2 separate regions of the Homo sapiens genome follow, and region 2 is linked to region 1. Evidence: promoter capture Hi-C in human tissues and cell types (Jung and others, 2019). All regions are on one chromosome and are shown on one strand. The core of a region is centred on a gene start or on the middle of the fragment in contact, and the rest is flanking DNA. Distances in the headings are between cores, read along the strand shown. Region 1 holds the start of LAYN (layilin). Region 2 overlaps POU2AF2 (POU class 2 homeobox associating factor 2).

The links. The method cuts DNA at HindIII sites, captures the fragments that hold promoters and counts their contacts. A contact is called where the count stands out against the background at its distance.
Region 2: a contact is called between a fragment that was not itself captured here and the fragment with the promoter of LAYN in region 1, in 1 of the 25 tissues and cell types used here (IMR-90 fibroblasts).

What each region holds. Positions count from the first base shown.
Region 1 is chr11:111,536,088-111,542,696 of GRCh38, reverse strand. LAYN (layilin) reads right to left here and starts at 1,977. Exons shown (of 7, transcript NM_178834.5): 1 at 1,769-1,977. The coding sequence starts at 1,853. It overlaps HOATZ (HOATZ cilia and flagella associated protein), which reads right to left. Exons shown (of 6, transcript NM_001100388.2): 6 at 5,654-5,927. The coding sequence ends at 5,870. RefSeq lists an enhancer at 2,195-2,874. The HindIII fragment of the contact is 9,472 bases long and covers 1-3,875 here.
Region 2 is chr11:111,278,106-111,285,371 of GRCh38, reverse strand. It overlaps POU2AF2 (POU class 2 homeobox associating factor 2), which reads right to left. Exons shown (of 5, transcript NM_198498.3): 3 at 3,932-3,974; 4 at 995-1,296. Among named protein-coding and RNA genes, the nearest start is that of POU2AF3, 17 kb to the left of the region's middle. The HindIII fragment of the contact is 8,270 bases long and covers 1-6,076 here.

The DNA.
Region 1 (6,609 bases), core at 728-3,227:
TGTGGGCTGTGGGTGCGAACTGCTGCCACAGTGCCGGGGGTAAAATATTTTGGTTTGGGAACCTCCTCCCAGAACTTCTGGAATGTTCTTGTTTTCCCAACTTGTTTTACAGCTGCGCAGGGAGCCAGATAGCATTCATTAATTCCCAACACTGGCCAGCATATAGGGCAAGGGGCCACAGACAGATAGAACTATATGATTAGTGCTAAATGAGAAAGAGCACATACAGATTATCCAGAAAGCTCCAGTGAGTCTTCATTTTCTATTTCTTCTCTCATCACTTTCATAAAGGAATTCTCAATGAGCAACAAGTTATAAGAGTTCCACATCTTCTCCCTTTTCCTGTCATTATTTGGCTATTGCTGATAATAGAGAAACTCTAATTAGACTGGTCCAGCAGCACATTAGGAGGGTTCAAAAGCCAGACCTGCTTGCAAGAAGGTATTCAGAGAGGCTGAGGCAGGGATACCCCCGGGAAGGGGGCTGGGCCAGCCACGCTTTTGCGATTCCTCAAAGCTGGCTCCAAATTGGGCAGCAGAGGAGGGGCAAATGAGCCCCCAGGAACTTATCCAACCTGGCCACCGGCATAACATAAGCTGGAGTTGAATTTCCTGACAACCCCCACTTTCCATGTTGGATTGTCAAGGGAAACATAACACCTTAAGCGAGTTTCCTGTATGGTCCAGCCTGGCCACACATCCGAAGTCTGCGGGTGAGTGCCAGAGACCGTCAGAGCTGGAAGGAGGCCCGCGGGCCTATCTGGTTCTCCTGCCTTCAGGAAGTGTCCTTCTCTTCTCATTTGCAGGAAGGCGAAGGGTGGGAGGGCCTTCTGTTCCCCGCGACCAAGGACAGAGCCCACGCAGCCCTAACCCAAGCAGCTCAATTCAGCTTCCCACCTCTTTTGCCGCCCCGCCCCCATCCTGAAACCAACTTTACATTCTTTAAATTAGTTTCGCAAGCCAGGATGCCAGAGTAGAGGAGGTTCCCAGTCTCCTCTGTCCCGTTTGGTCAAGCTGTTGGCACCCGCAAAAAGGATCTGAGAAAAGGGCACGGATGTTCTCCCCCCGACATGCAGAACAACTGAAAGAAGCCAGAAGCCAGAGCACTTTACCTCCTCTGAGGTCCAAATCCGAGGCTGCAGTGACACAACAGGAGGAAGGAAGCAGAGAGTCATTCCCCGGAGTCAGGTGGGGCTCGTCCCACACTAACTGGAGTTCTTTCCCGATCTCTAAGCGCTCTCATACCGGGCGCTCGACCCAGCCATCCAACCCCGCAGAAGAGACGAGGAGTAACAGGCAGGGTTCCCACGGCACCGGGGATCCAGCATCCCTACCCCGCTGTCTCTGCGGCCGCCTCCCGGAGCGGGCGGTAGGCGGGGGCCAGCTGGCAAGCCTGCCCCGCGGGGGTGGTCCCAAGGACTGATTCGATGCGTGTAAAGGAGCGGGCCGAAGGGGCACCCACTGGGGCAGGTTTGCCCACTGCCCCACCTCTCCTACATTCTCCAACCCACCCCCATAACTCTGGACTGGGAACGGGCTTCGAGCGTTCCAGGACGCGCAGGGAACTGCGCAGCTCCGGGAACTGGCGTGGGTCTCAGACGCCGTGCGACTGCCCCCAGAACGCAAGAGACTCCGAAGGGCTGCGTCTGGGAGTGGGGCATGGGACGGCCTTCTAGTCCCATACGTGGCGACCCAGAAGAGGGTCAGCAGCAGCTGGGGTGCAGTGAGCCCACCCCGGCACCAGCCCCCGCCCCAGCGCGCGCACTCACCACTCAGCAGGCGACCCGTCGCGGCCCGCAGCCCCACCAGCAGCACGGCCAGCAGCACGGCCTGTAGCGCGGTTCCCGGCCTCATGGCCCGACTCGGGTGCGCCCCCCGACACTCGGGCGCTACGGCGGTGGAGCGGGCTGGCGGGCAGAGGCGTGCGCGACAACTGCAACCGCGGCAGCAGCATCTCTAGGCCACCGACGGACCGCACGGGAGGCGGGGGGGAGGGCGCGGAGTCAGTCGGTCGCCCCTCCGCCCCCTGGGACGTCACTGCGAGGAGGGCAGCCCCGCTGGCTGGCCCGCCCCCGACAGCCTCCTCCAGCGAGGTTGGCGCCAGACACTCGGCCAGCCAGAGAGGGGCGAGTCGCAGAGGGGAACCAGCTCCCTGTCCCCCTCCGAGCTTCCCTGGGAGATCCCGCGTTTGCCCGAGGCGCTGGGCGGAGGAATACTTCAGTCGGGCCCCTAGGCAATCTGATAACGAGCACAGTGTGCCTAAAACTAGCACCACATCTCACCCCTCCTCTCCCGCTGACCTTAGCCAAGTTCGCCAGCTGTGCGGGTGCACCTGGAGAGAGAGGCGATGCGTGGACTCCTACCTGGGGCTCAGCAGGCCGCAGTCCCAGCACGAAGGGCGACGCCTGAGCAGGGAATGGTCGATGCAGAGAACAAACACTCACGCAGGCAGTGTGCCCACCGGCCAGGAAAGTTATGGGACACCGCGCGGATGGCATCCAAAGAACTTGGCTGAGTTGGAGCCCTCCCGACTGAAAGGAAAGCGGCTTCTACCAGAAGCCAAAAGATGTCCCAGATCCCTGGAAGGAAATGATTCTGTTTTTTGCAGGGAACAGGTTGGGAGGTGGGGGTCATAGTTAGGGAGTTCAGCTTTGGCCCCTCGCCCCGCAGGAAAGAATGAAACTATTATCTCAGGAAAAGCTTTCCTAACCTAGCCCTCAATGTGTGCTTCCTCTTGTAAACTCCCAAAGTAGGTGTGTTTCACTTTGGTTTCGTAAACAAAATGCTTTTAAATATAGTCAAGCAATAGAGTGAGCCATCTGTCCAAAGATTAAGGCACTAAGTAGCAGAAGGTGAATCTGACTTTCTGCCTTTTCTGCCACACCATGCTGCTGTGAAGCATAGCAGAAGCCCCATCTGGGCCACGACCTCTGGATTTTGGTTCCAGCTTGCTGCTTCTTACGTACTCTTTCTGCTTTTCAAAACAGCCAAGAAAGCAGTGATGCTTCTAAGGCCTCTAGCCACTGCAATTCTAAACAAACAGCCTGAATACAGGCTGGGGGTGAGAGGGGAGTGGGATGAATTTCAGTATCAGCTGAGACTATGGGGGAGCTCTGCTGCGGCACGTAACAGCTAACAGCGGTTGTGGCAGGATGAGGCCTGACCTTTATGGCAAGATCATTTATAGACCTTCCTTCTGTCCCAGTTAGAATACGTCAATGTCACATCTAACACACTTTCTTCTTAGAAATTCTTGGTTATCAAAACAACTTGAGAGAACTGTTATGGTGAAAAGAAGCACTGGAGTTGGCATTTGAGGGTCTGTTTCAGATTCTGCTCTTCATTTAATGTCTGTGTGGCCTTTGGCAATTCCGTTTGCCTAAGTTTCACTTAACTGTTGGTAACATTAACAGTTGCCTTAAGAGTTTAGTGAGTGTTTGATAAGGCAAATATATATGTAAATGTTCAGATATCTAGGCACTTAATGTCAATTGAAAAGGATTTATTTCTAATATTATAACATCTGCTACAACTTTAAAAAGCTGTTACATAATTAAATCGTGTCCCGACTTCTCGCTTTGATACCCTGGACCTTGGTTCAGATGGATTTTGTTAGGGTATACAGTCAACCAAACCTGGTAGATTACAATAACGGCCCCAATTCTCCACACCTCCCTGTACCCATATCCTTTACCATATGACTTTGTAGTTTCTCTTTCTAAAGAGGCAGAGTATATTTCCCCACACCTTGACTTTGTGTTTGACCATGTGATTGACTTGTTTGGCTAACAGAATGAGTCAGTTCTGAGCTTAGACCAGAAAGGCCTCATATTTCTTTTTCTTCTCTGCCACTCTCTGAGAGGAACATACCTTAGATATCCCACTGGTCTATGTGTATCCCTAAGAGGATGACAAATGGAGCAGAGCTACCTCAGGCAATTGACAAACTTGCAGTAAGAGACAGAGCTGCTCTAGGTGCTGTAGCTTGAAGCAGAGCTCTCTGGCTAAGCCTAGGTCAGCCAAACTAGATCACACAAAACTGCAGATGTGTGAGCAGTAATAAATGTTGTTTTAGACCCCTTTGTTATGCAGCATTGTTGCAGCAATAGCTAACCATTACACTTGGCAATGTAGGGAGGTATCACTAGGGGAAGGCTGGTTGCCAAGAAAGTCCACAAAGTAGAATTTTTCTTGGTAAAATTACCCTGGTCCAGGGTCCAATTCCTAGTTTAACATGCTCAAACCCAATCTAAGAGACTAATATATTTACACATTGAGAAATAGAATTGTCAGGTAAACTAATGCTTGCATTGGCCTGTTGAACACATATTCTCCCTCTGGGCAAAAAAGATTTATCAGCATGGAATCAGAATGAAAGGAATTAGTTATATGATTTAATAGTTTAGGCTTTGATAGCCTGCTGTGTCCATCTTCACAACGAAGACCTACCTGCCAGGCAGACAGATACATCAACCAGACAGGATACCTTTTATTCTTGCTGGTGCTAGGATGGGGCTGCCAATTTATAACTTTCAAAATTTTCCTTTCCTAGGCCTGACTACCTTCCTTTTGTTCCGAACATTTTTCTTCAAATAGCGTTGTGCCAGAACCTTGTCATTGTCCCCTAATATCCATTCTCCACTTCTTTTGGCTATAGAATCCCTGAATTTTAATTAGACAGAAGCCCCCTCCCCATTTTCTAAAGACAATTTCCAGCCTCCCTTGCAGCCTGATGTGTCCTTGTGATTACGCTCTGACCAGTGGGCCACCCAGTCTTCTGTTGGCACAGTGGATGGGGGCTGTGTCTTATGAAAGCTATGTCCAAGAGTTCCAAGTGGAGGCCAGTAGTGATGGAAATGGTGGTCCTAAATAGAGCTGCAACCTCTGGGTAACCCTCTTACCCTAAATACATGTTGCTTACCCAAGAGTCAGACTCCTGAGATTTCATCATTGGTAACTGATTTCCTTGGATTACCCATTGTTCCCTTTATTCAGCCTTCTTTTAAAATGCAAATATTCCTGGGTGGATAATAAACATATTGCTACTAAAGCTTTACTATAAACACACTTTCCAGTTCTTTCTTTCTGACAGAAGGGGGCCTGGATTATGCTAAGATCTCTCGAAGGAGGGATGGGGAAGAGCATCTAACCCTGAGTAGGACTGCCATTTGGACAGCGCAGAAGGGACAAATCCTTAATCTTTTCTTTTCCATTACATAGCAAAGGGAATGAAAGTGAGGGGGGTTGGCACTGGGTTTATGTATGTGTGTAAAACATAGGCACGTGGAGCCAGTTATTCACAGAGGTAGAAGCAACTCACTTCTGACTTCAGACATGTTTCAGAAATGGAACAAACCAAATTTTGCTAAGTGGTTTTCTTATTAAAGCAAGTAGACTTGAAGTTTTCAAAACTGCCCTTTCATTCCTATTTCCTGATTGTTTTTACTGGTGGTCTACAAGTTAAGACACATAAAGCCCCTGTTTCTTGCTTACCTGATATTCATAATATAGATCTAGCATAGAAATTCTGGAAATACCCTTCAAATGAAAACAAGATAAATAGGAGTTTGAGAATGTGGTAAGATGAAAGAGATGTATGTTGTGGTGTCAAACAGTAGTACCCAGTAAGTAAATAGACACAAATATTCAATAGCTGGTAGAATTCATAGAAGCCTGCATATTTAACCTTTATTTCTTTATTTTAACACAAGTACTCACTAACTGGTAAAATTCCTGGAAGTCTGCGTATTTAACTTGTATTTCTTTGTCTACTATAATGTTGCCAGTGATCTCAATGATCCTGATCTAAGAGAAGGTTGTTTCCAAAGTGAAGGTATAAGTGAGCCATCCTCTGCCATGTGTCAAGCAAATTAGTCCAAAGTTTTGACTTCTTCTTGGTCCTCTTTATCTGACTCTGATACCACTTTCCTGTTGGTAGTAATATCAGTCAGTTCCAATACACAGAACTCCGCCATTGTGAACATGATGTAGCATGAAAACAACTTTTGAAAATTCTCCCAATAAAAATTCACTGTTGTAGATTCTATGTGTTGGGTTTTGCAACCAAGTATAAACTTGTATGTGAGAGAAGTGGTTATGATATTGTGAAGTGTGGTTTGGAGGTACAGGAGCCCTCCTACCCCAAATATGTTTTGTTTATTCTAGAGTCAGACTCCTGAGATTTCATCATTGGTAATTGATTTCTTTGGTTTACCCATTATTTTATTTATTCAGACTTCTTTTAAAATGCAAATATTCTGGGATGGATAATAAATATATTGCTACTAAAACCTTACTATGAACACATTTTCCGGTTCCTTCTTTCTAACAGAAGGGGACCTGGATTATACTAAGAAGACCTGTTGAAGGAGGAATGGTAAGGGGGAGTCTGTGTATGTAGGGGAGTTATTTTACAATTGTGTCTAATAGAATAGTTTTTAAAGTTTATAAATTAATGTATAGTATGCAAACATCACTTTCTAAATTGGCTAACACTGAATTACATGATATTTTTCAACTAAACTTTTTGTTATAAATATTTTCTGAAGTCCAACATGTAAGCAGTATGCTGGCACTTTGGGTGACCCAATTCCTCATGGAGCTTACAGTA
Region 2 (7,266 bases), core at 692-3,191, 260 kb after region 1:
CAACATTTTACTGTGTGCAATGCACTCTGTCTTGGATTCTTTTTGAGTCTCCCATTAGTCTGGGTCCTAGAATGCCATTTACACAGTGGGGAAGGTCAGCGCTTGGCCCACTCCTCGGAGTAGGCCTTCAACTCCATGGTGAATTTTTGAGGGGACTGAGAAGCCCACTCTGTCCTCATTAAAGCAGGAGGAAAGAGGTAGGAATCCCGTAAGTTTGGAGCTAGAAAGATTTGGATTCATTCGTGGCTCCTCCTGACTCTGAGCCCGACATTGCTCATCTGTAAAATGGGACTTTCATAAATATATCCTGAGTTGTTGCAAGTATTGAATGAACACATCACATTTCCTGGCATAGAGTATACTTAATAATGTGAATTCTCATCCTCTCCCTTTTGTCTAAACTCCTGTCTTTAGAGCTTCATTACTTTGTGGTAGAAACCTTTACTATTCTCTATGAGCATTAGCAATCTTCAGATCTTTATGAACTCACCTGTTTGGAAGGATTGAGAGAGAACAAGGATTTTTAGGCTAAAAATGTGGGGAAGGGGAGGCAGGGGACTTGGAAAGAAAGAGGAGCCCTATGTACCCTCCTTGGGAGATTATGATCCATCTCATTACTGCCTAGCATGTCTGAGATGCAGCTTCAGTGTTCCTTCCTTAGGGGCTGCAGGAATGATGACGACTGGCACTAACAGGGTGGGGGAACATCAGGCAATATCAGTAGAGCATTAACAAAATGGATATAAATCCTGCTGCACATTCCTCCCGGTTCCAAGCCCTGCGTAGACGCTCCTGGCTGTCATGGCTAACAGGGATCCTTGAACAAGGCTCCCTCGGAGGGTGTCCTGGCATCTCTAGGCAGCTGCAAAGCAGCCTCTGGAGTCTACAGGGTGAGCCAGACCTGGCTTCAACCCGGATGCCAAGCACAGCGGCTGGCCAGAGGGCGAGCCTCGCCCCTCTTTTACTCCCTCACACGAGGTCTCTGCATACTCACAAATAGGAAGTGAGCTGGGTCTCCGGGGAAGGGCGGTGGCAGGAGCGGCGGTAGGGGCGAGGCGCTGAACAGAGAGCCCGCGTTGGGCGTCAGCGCCGGAGGCCGGTAGTCTCCGTAGGGCTCCTGGGGGAAGTAGGGCTCCAGGAGAGCCGCATGGCTCTGCCCTGCGGAGGACTCACAGGGAAACGGCTTCCCCACGCTGGAGGTGTAGACGTCATTTGAAAACTGTTTACTGTTGTGGAAGTCTGAGTCAGATAAGAAAGATCTTCTGACACCGTAGTAACCTGACGTGACCGGCGAACCTGTTGCCAAATGAAAAACACATGGGCAGAAAATTCCTCCCAGGGCGGTCAAGGCCTCGGTTGCAGCTGAGTCTCTGCCTGGGAAACGATGTTACTAACGCGTGCCTGACTCCAACGCTAACATGGAAATAGAGAAATGTCTTGAAAAGCGTGAAATATTCCTGCATTAGCCCAAATAACTAACGTTTGAAAACATTGTCGCCTTTAGGGGTGAGTTCATTTTAGACAGTACCGTGTCTGTTCATTCATTCACATTTACTGAGTACCTTCCCGGTGACCGGCGCTGTGCTAGGAAGACATAAATGAAATAATCTCTTGGCATTCATATTTTAACCAAGGAAGCATCTTTTTCACAACATCGGAGCTACCTCTCCATATACATAGAACTGTTAACAAGAGGTGCTCCTGGCCTGTTATCTGAGATCGCTATGTCTGGATAAGGTAACACATATAACCCCACCTCAAAGAGGCAGGCTGTACTCTGCCTTCTAATTCTTCACACATTGACCTTACACTGGGTCGCACGCCTGGCAGACATCAATAAATGACTTTCTTTAGGATTAGATGGCCACACAGAAGCCAATTTTAGAGGCCTGTAGTTTTAGGGTTTTGATGAGTTTTATGTTATTTGCTGCCCTCTTGTGGCCTCATGGACTCCTTCACTCAACTCACCAGGGCCCAGCACGTTTAGGAAGACAGTGCCGGCTACATAAAGTTTCCCTTGGTGGTGCAGGCTCGGTGGCTCACACCTGTAATCCCAGCACTTTGGGAGGCCCAGGCTGGCGGATCACGAGGTCAAGAGATTGAGACCATCCTGGCCAACATGGTGAAAACCCATCTCTACTAAAAACAATACAAAAATCAGCTGGGCCACCATGCCTGTAATCACAGCTGCTGTAGTCCCAGTTACTCAGGAGGCTGAGGCAGGAGAATTACTTGAACCCGGGAGGTGGAGGTTGCAGTGAGCTGAGATCTCGCCCAGAGCAAGAGTCCGTCTCAAAAAAAAAAAAAAAAAAAGTAAAAAGTTTTCCTTGGTGGAGAGAGGGAGGGACAGAAACTGATAAGAGCTTCATTTAAGGTAAGCCCAGCAGTGAAATGGTTTCCAAGGAAAAAGGTGTGTTTGCTCAACACTTTCTGACCCCGTAGCTCAGTTGTAGCAGAAAACACTGATCATTCAGAACATGTTTGAGGGCATAGACTTGAGGTCTATAAAACTGATGGTTTAATTGTTCCAGCTGGCCTTGGGTGTGATCTAATGCTAACACCAACACCCTTAGGTCATAGGTCACAAAAAGGCTGAACTGGGGAGAAGATATAAGTGCCTGTCTTCCTTACCTTACCCCAACCACAGCAGCAGACCACTTCTGAGCTTCTGATTCTATAGACACAGAATTCCAGCCCGTTCCACAGGATGTGGCACTTTATATTATGCTCATTCCTCTTTCACCTGAGTCACAATGATCTTTCCAGTCAACCTGCGAGCCCAAGGGGGCAGATCTCATGCCTTATACATTTTCTTTAAACCTAGTAGTATAACATTGTGTTCAAGAATGGCATGTGAATTTATTCATCCAGAAGAAGAAATCAAAATTCCCCATCAAAACCTGTGGCACGACTCCACTCACTTCACTTTCATCTTACATTCTATAACTTCTAACCTGCTCATGCATTTGAAAGCTGAAGTTAGGGTTTTCATTATAAGCATACTTCCTTGGGAAAAAATCTGTGCAGCTGAACCTTAATATAAATAAATAAGGTTCTGTTTCATACAATGAAATTATATTTATGAGAGCGGTTAAGGTTGAGAATATGAAAACAAGGTTTCCAGGCTCTCATCTATACTCCCAATTTCCAAATCAAAACAACCACGAAGAAAAAAGCCTCTGCTCTCTTAGCATGGATTTTCTCTGTACAAAGAGAAAGGATAATTTCTAGATAAAGAGAAGCTATGGAAATTTTTCTTTTTTTTTTCTGTAGAAGGCAGGAGATGCCACCAAATTTCAATGGCACTATATATGATTGGGAAACAACATACAGACATTTAAATATTCGGGATCCTCGATTGCTCTTATTCCTTTCCCTTATCCAGCTCTGAAGGTGATAAAACTATTAGGGAATGTGCCGCGTCTGAGTTGAACTAAATGAGATTGTCTTTGCCTGTGTGGTGTGTGTTTATACAAGAATGTCCAACAGTATTATTAGGAATTCCCCTTTTACATCCCCACAGGAGTATTTAATGAGACATAGGCATTGAAATGAATTCAAAATACTGAACCAAATGCCTGACTCCCTCTGCTCGCAGACGGCTTTCCCCTTTCTGTTTGAAAGCAGATGCCTCATCTATCAGATCATGGTGTCAGAACTTTAGACAATTTAAAACTGTATCAAGGGCATAATTTATATTGCCTTTGCCCCAAAAGCTTGGGATAAAAGGGCTGCTTTCAAGACAAAATGAATTTTAAATTCAGAAATTACTGCATGAGTTCTGTCCTTCGCTGATTTTGTATTTTAGACAAAACTATTTTAAAGGAGCAGAGTTTTGGAAGTGTTGTAAGGTCGTTATGAAAGAATGGAAGCCCAGATGCTTGATTTAAATTCAAAAGGGAATAATTGCTTATTGAATTAAAGTACTCACCTGGCATCTGCACAAATGGAGACTGAGAGGAACTGACGCTGCCCTGGAAGGTAAACAGAATTCAAGTGTTTTCTTTAGTTGTAAGTTTGAATTTAATAAAAATTAGGAATACACCTTATAAGCTTGGTTTTATGATATTCAGAAGTATTATCTGGGGAGTTGGGTTGACCCTCAGGTCAACTGAGAATAAGAATTCAAGTACCATAGAACAAAGTTTTACAAGGGACAAAGAGCAACCACACTTTTACATTTTGATAAACATGCCAGAAAGCACTGGCTGGATGAAATGTAGTAATTTATCCTTCATCTTCTACTGTTCCAGTTAACATTCCCTCATCCAATATATATTAAGTGACTATATATACGCATATCCAGTAGCCTCCCCTTACCCACGAGGGATATGTTCCAAGACTCCCCAGTGGGTTCCTAAAACTGAGGATAGCACCACACCTGATTGCCATCATGTCCTCCACCCACAAACTCAATGCCTTTTCCATCTTAGCTAAGAATTTATCATGCATTGTGGCCACAGTTTTGCAGTTCGAGGTGCAACAGCAAAACTCGCATGAATTTCTTTCGCCTTCTTCACAATTTCACAGACAAAAGATTTGTTCTTACCATACCAATGTCTGACCTCAGCATACATTTTTTTTCTTTCCTTATTAAGTTGAGAACGTTTACTTTTTCATTTAAAGGAAGCACATTCCGGCTTCTCTTTGGCATATCTAAATTGCCAGTGTCACTACTCTTGTGCTTTCGGGCCATTGTGAAATACAATAAGGGTGACTTGAACACAAGCACTGCCATACAGAGACAGGTGATCCAATCACTGAGTCGGCTACTGAGACACTAACGGGCAGGTGGTGTAGACAGTGTGGATTGGCTGGACAAAGGTAAGATTCAAGTCCTGGGCAGCACAGAGTGGGACTGAATGAAATTTCATCACACCACTGAGAAAGGCATGCCATTTAAGATCTAGAAATTGTTTATTTCTGGAATTTCGCATTTAGTATGTTCAGACTGCAGTTAACCATGAGTAGCTGAAACCTCAGAAAGGGAAACCATGGCTAAGGGGCGCCTACTGTATGTGTGTATGTGCATACATGCACTTAGTGTTTGGCTTCAGCACTGAAGGGCCACTTCAATGTTTACTGTCTGAATCCATGTGGAGGAAGAAGCTCCACCAACTGTAGGGACCTTGACTGTGATGTGCCCTCAGTGCCTAGAACAGGGTGTAGTTCATAATAGACGTAAGAAAAATATGTGGAATGAAGACACAATCTTCAAAGAACCCACAGGCTAGAGAGCAGGGAGAGGTTGGGGAATGTGGTGGGTTGCATTATGTGCCCCCTCCAAAAGATATATATATATATATATATATATTTTTTTTTTTTTTTTTTGAGATGGAGTCTCACTCTCTCACCCAGGCTATAGTGCAATGGCACGATCTCGGCTCACTGCAACTTCCACCTCCCGGATTCAAGTGATTCTCCTGCCTCAGTCTCCTGAGTAGCTGGGATTACAGGCACGCACCACCACACCTGGCTACTTTTTGCATTTTTAGTAGAGATGGGTTTCACTGTGTTGGCCAGGCTGGTCTCGAACTCCTGACCTCAGGTGATCTACCTGTTTCGGCCTCCCAAATTGCTGGAATTTCAGGCATAAGCCACCCAAAGTTATATTGATACCTTAATCCCTGATACCTGTGAATGTGACGGTATTTGCTAATAGGGCTGTTAAAGATGTAACTACTTAAATTAAGATGAGGTCATATTAAATTAGGGTGGGTCCTAAATCTCATGTGACTGATGTCCTAATAGGAAGAGGAGAGGGACGCACAAAGACACAGATGCAGATGGGACAAGGTCATGTGAAGACAAAGGCAGCAGTTTGAGTGATACAACCTCAAGCCAAGGAACATCGAGGATCACCAGTGACAACTGCCAGCTAGGAAGAGGCAAGGAAGGATTCTCCCCAGAGGCTCCAGAGGGAGCATGGCCCTGCTGACACCTTGATTTTGGACTTCTAGCCTCTAGAGCTATCTATGAGATGATACATTTCTGTTGCTGTAAGTCATCCCATTTGTGGTAACTTGTTACTGCAGCCCTAAGACACCAATACAGGGGTGATTGATGACAAAACAGAATATTCGGTGTAGTATGAGAAGTGGCAGGGTCAGGGAAAGATGGGGTGATGCGGGCACCTAAACTGGTGTCAAGAATGGGGTGGGAGACACATCTTGCAGGATGCAGTGCCTAAGCTGACCTCTGAAGGAAGAGTATCTAGGCGTGTAGAGTCTTAAAATACGCAAATCATGGCTCCGAGATGTCCTGGAGCAAAGTAAGTGGAGAGGGTGTAGCTTCTGTGGAAGTTAAGAATCCTCAACATCCAGTTCATTGAATCCGAGCTCTTTTGCAGTGACTTTAATGATTCTATAGACTCTCAAGAGTTGGAAGAAATTTTATAGAGTCTCATTCAATGATTACATTCTCTCCATATTACTAACACCAGGTGCATCTAATATCCAGGCACACAGAACTTAGCACCCTCTGAGGAAACCCATTTCTTCTTTAGGAACTTTTACCAATTACAAAGTTGGCTGGAAAGAATAACTTTCTAGTTCTAATCCCTTTGGTCTTTATAGAATAAGTTTAACACTTCTTGCATACACAGCCCTTCAAATATCTGAAGACAAGCCTATGAAAAATACCATAGACTGCATGGCTTAAATAACAAAAATTTATTTCTCACAGTTCAGGAGACTGGAAGTCTGAGATCTAGGTGTGGTTTTTAGTGCGGGCCCTCTTTCTGGTTTGCAGAAAGCTGGCTTCTCACTGTGTGTTCACATGGCTGAGAGAGAGAGAGAGAGAGAGAGAGAGAGAGACAGAGAGAGAGATCATCTCTCTGGTGTCTCTTCTTATAAGGACACTAATCCCATTAGAGGGATTCACCTGCAAGATCTAATTACCTCCCAAAGGCCCCTTCTCCAAATGCCATCACACAGGGGATTAGCACCTCAACATTTGAATTTTAGGGGAATGCAAACGTGCAATTGCAATCTGTAATATCAACCTCGAGTTCGAACTTCTCCAGGCAAAATATCTTCCAACAACTCAGAAGCAGCATGGTAATTAAGAGTAAAGCCTCTGGAACCAGAGTGACTACATTTGAATCCCAGCTCTACCTCTTATTAGCTGTGGGATCTTGGGCACATGAAGATTAAATGAGATTATTACATCGAGCACTTAGAATAGTGTCTGCCACATGGTAAACAGCATATGTGCCTTAGCTATTATTACTATTATGCATTTGTTGGTTCCTTCAAATCTGTGGTA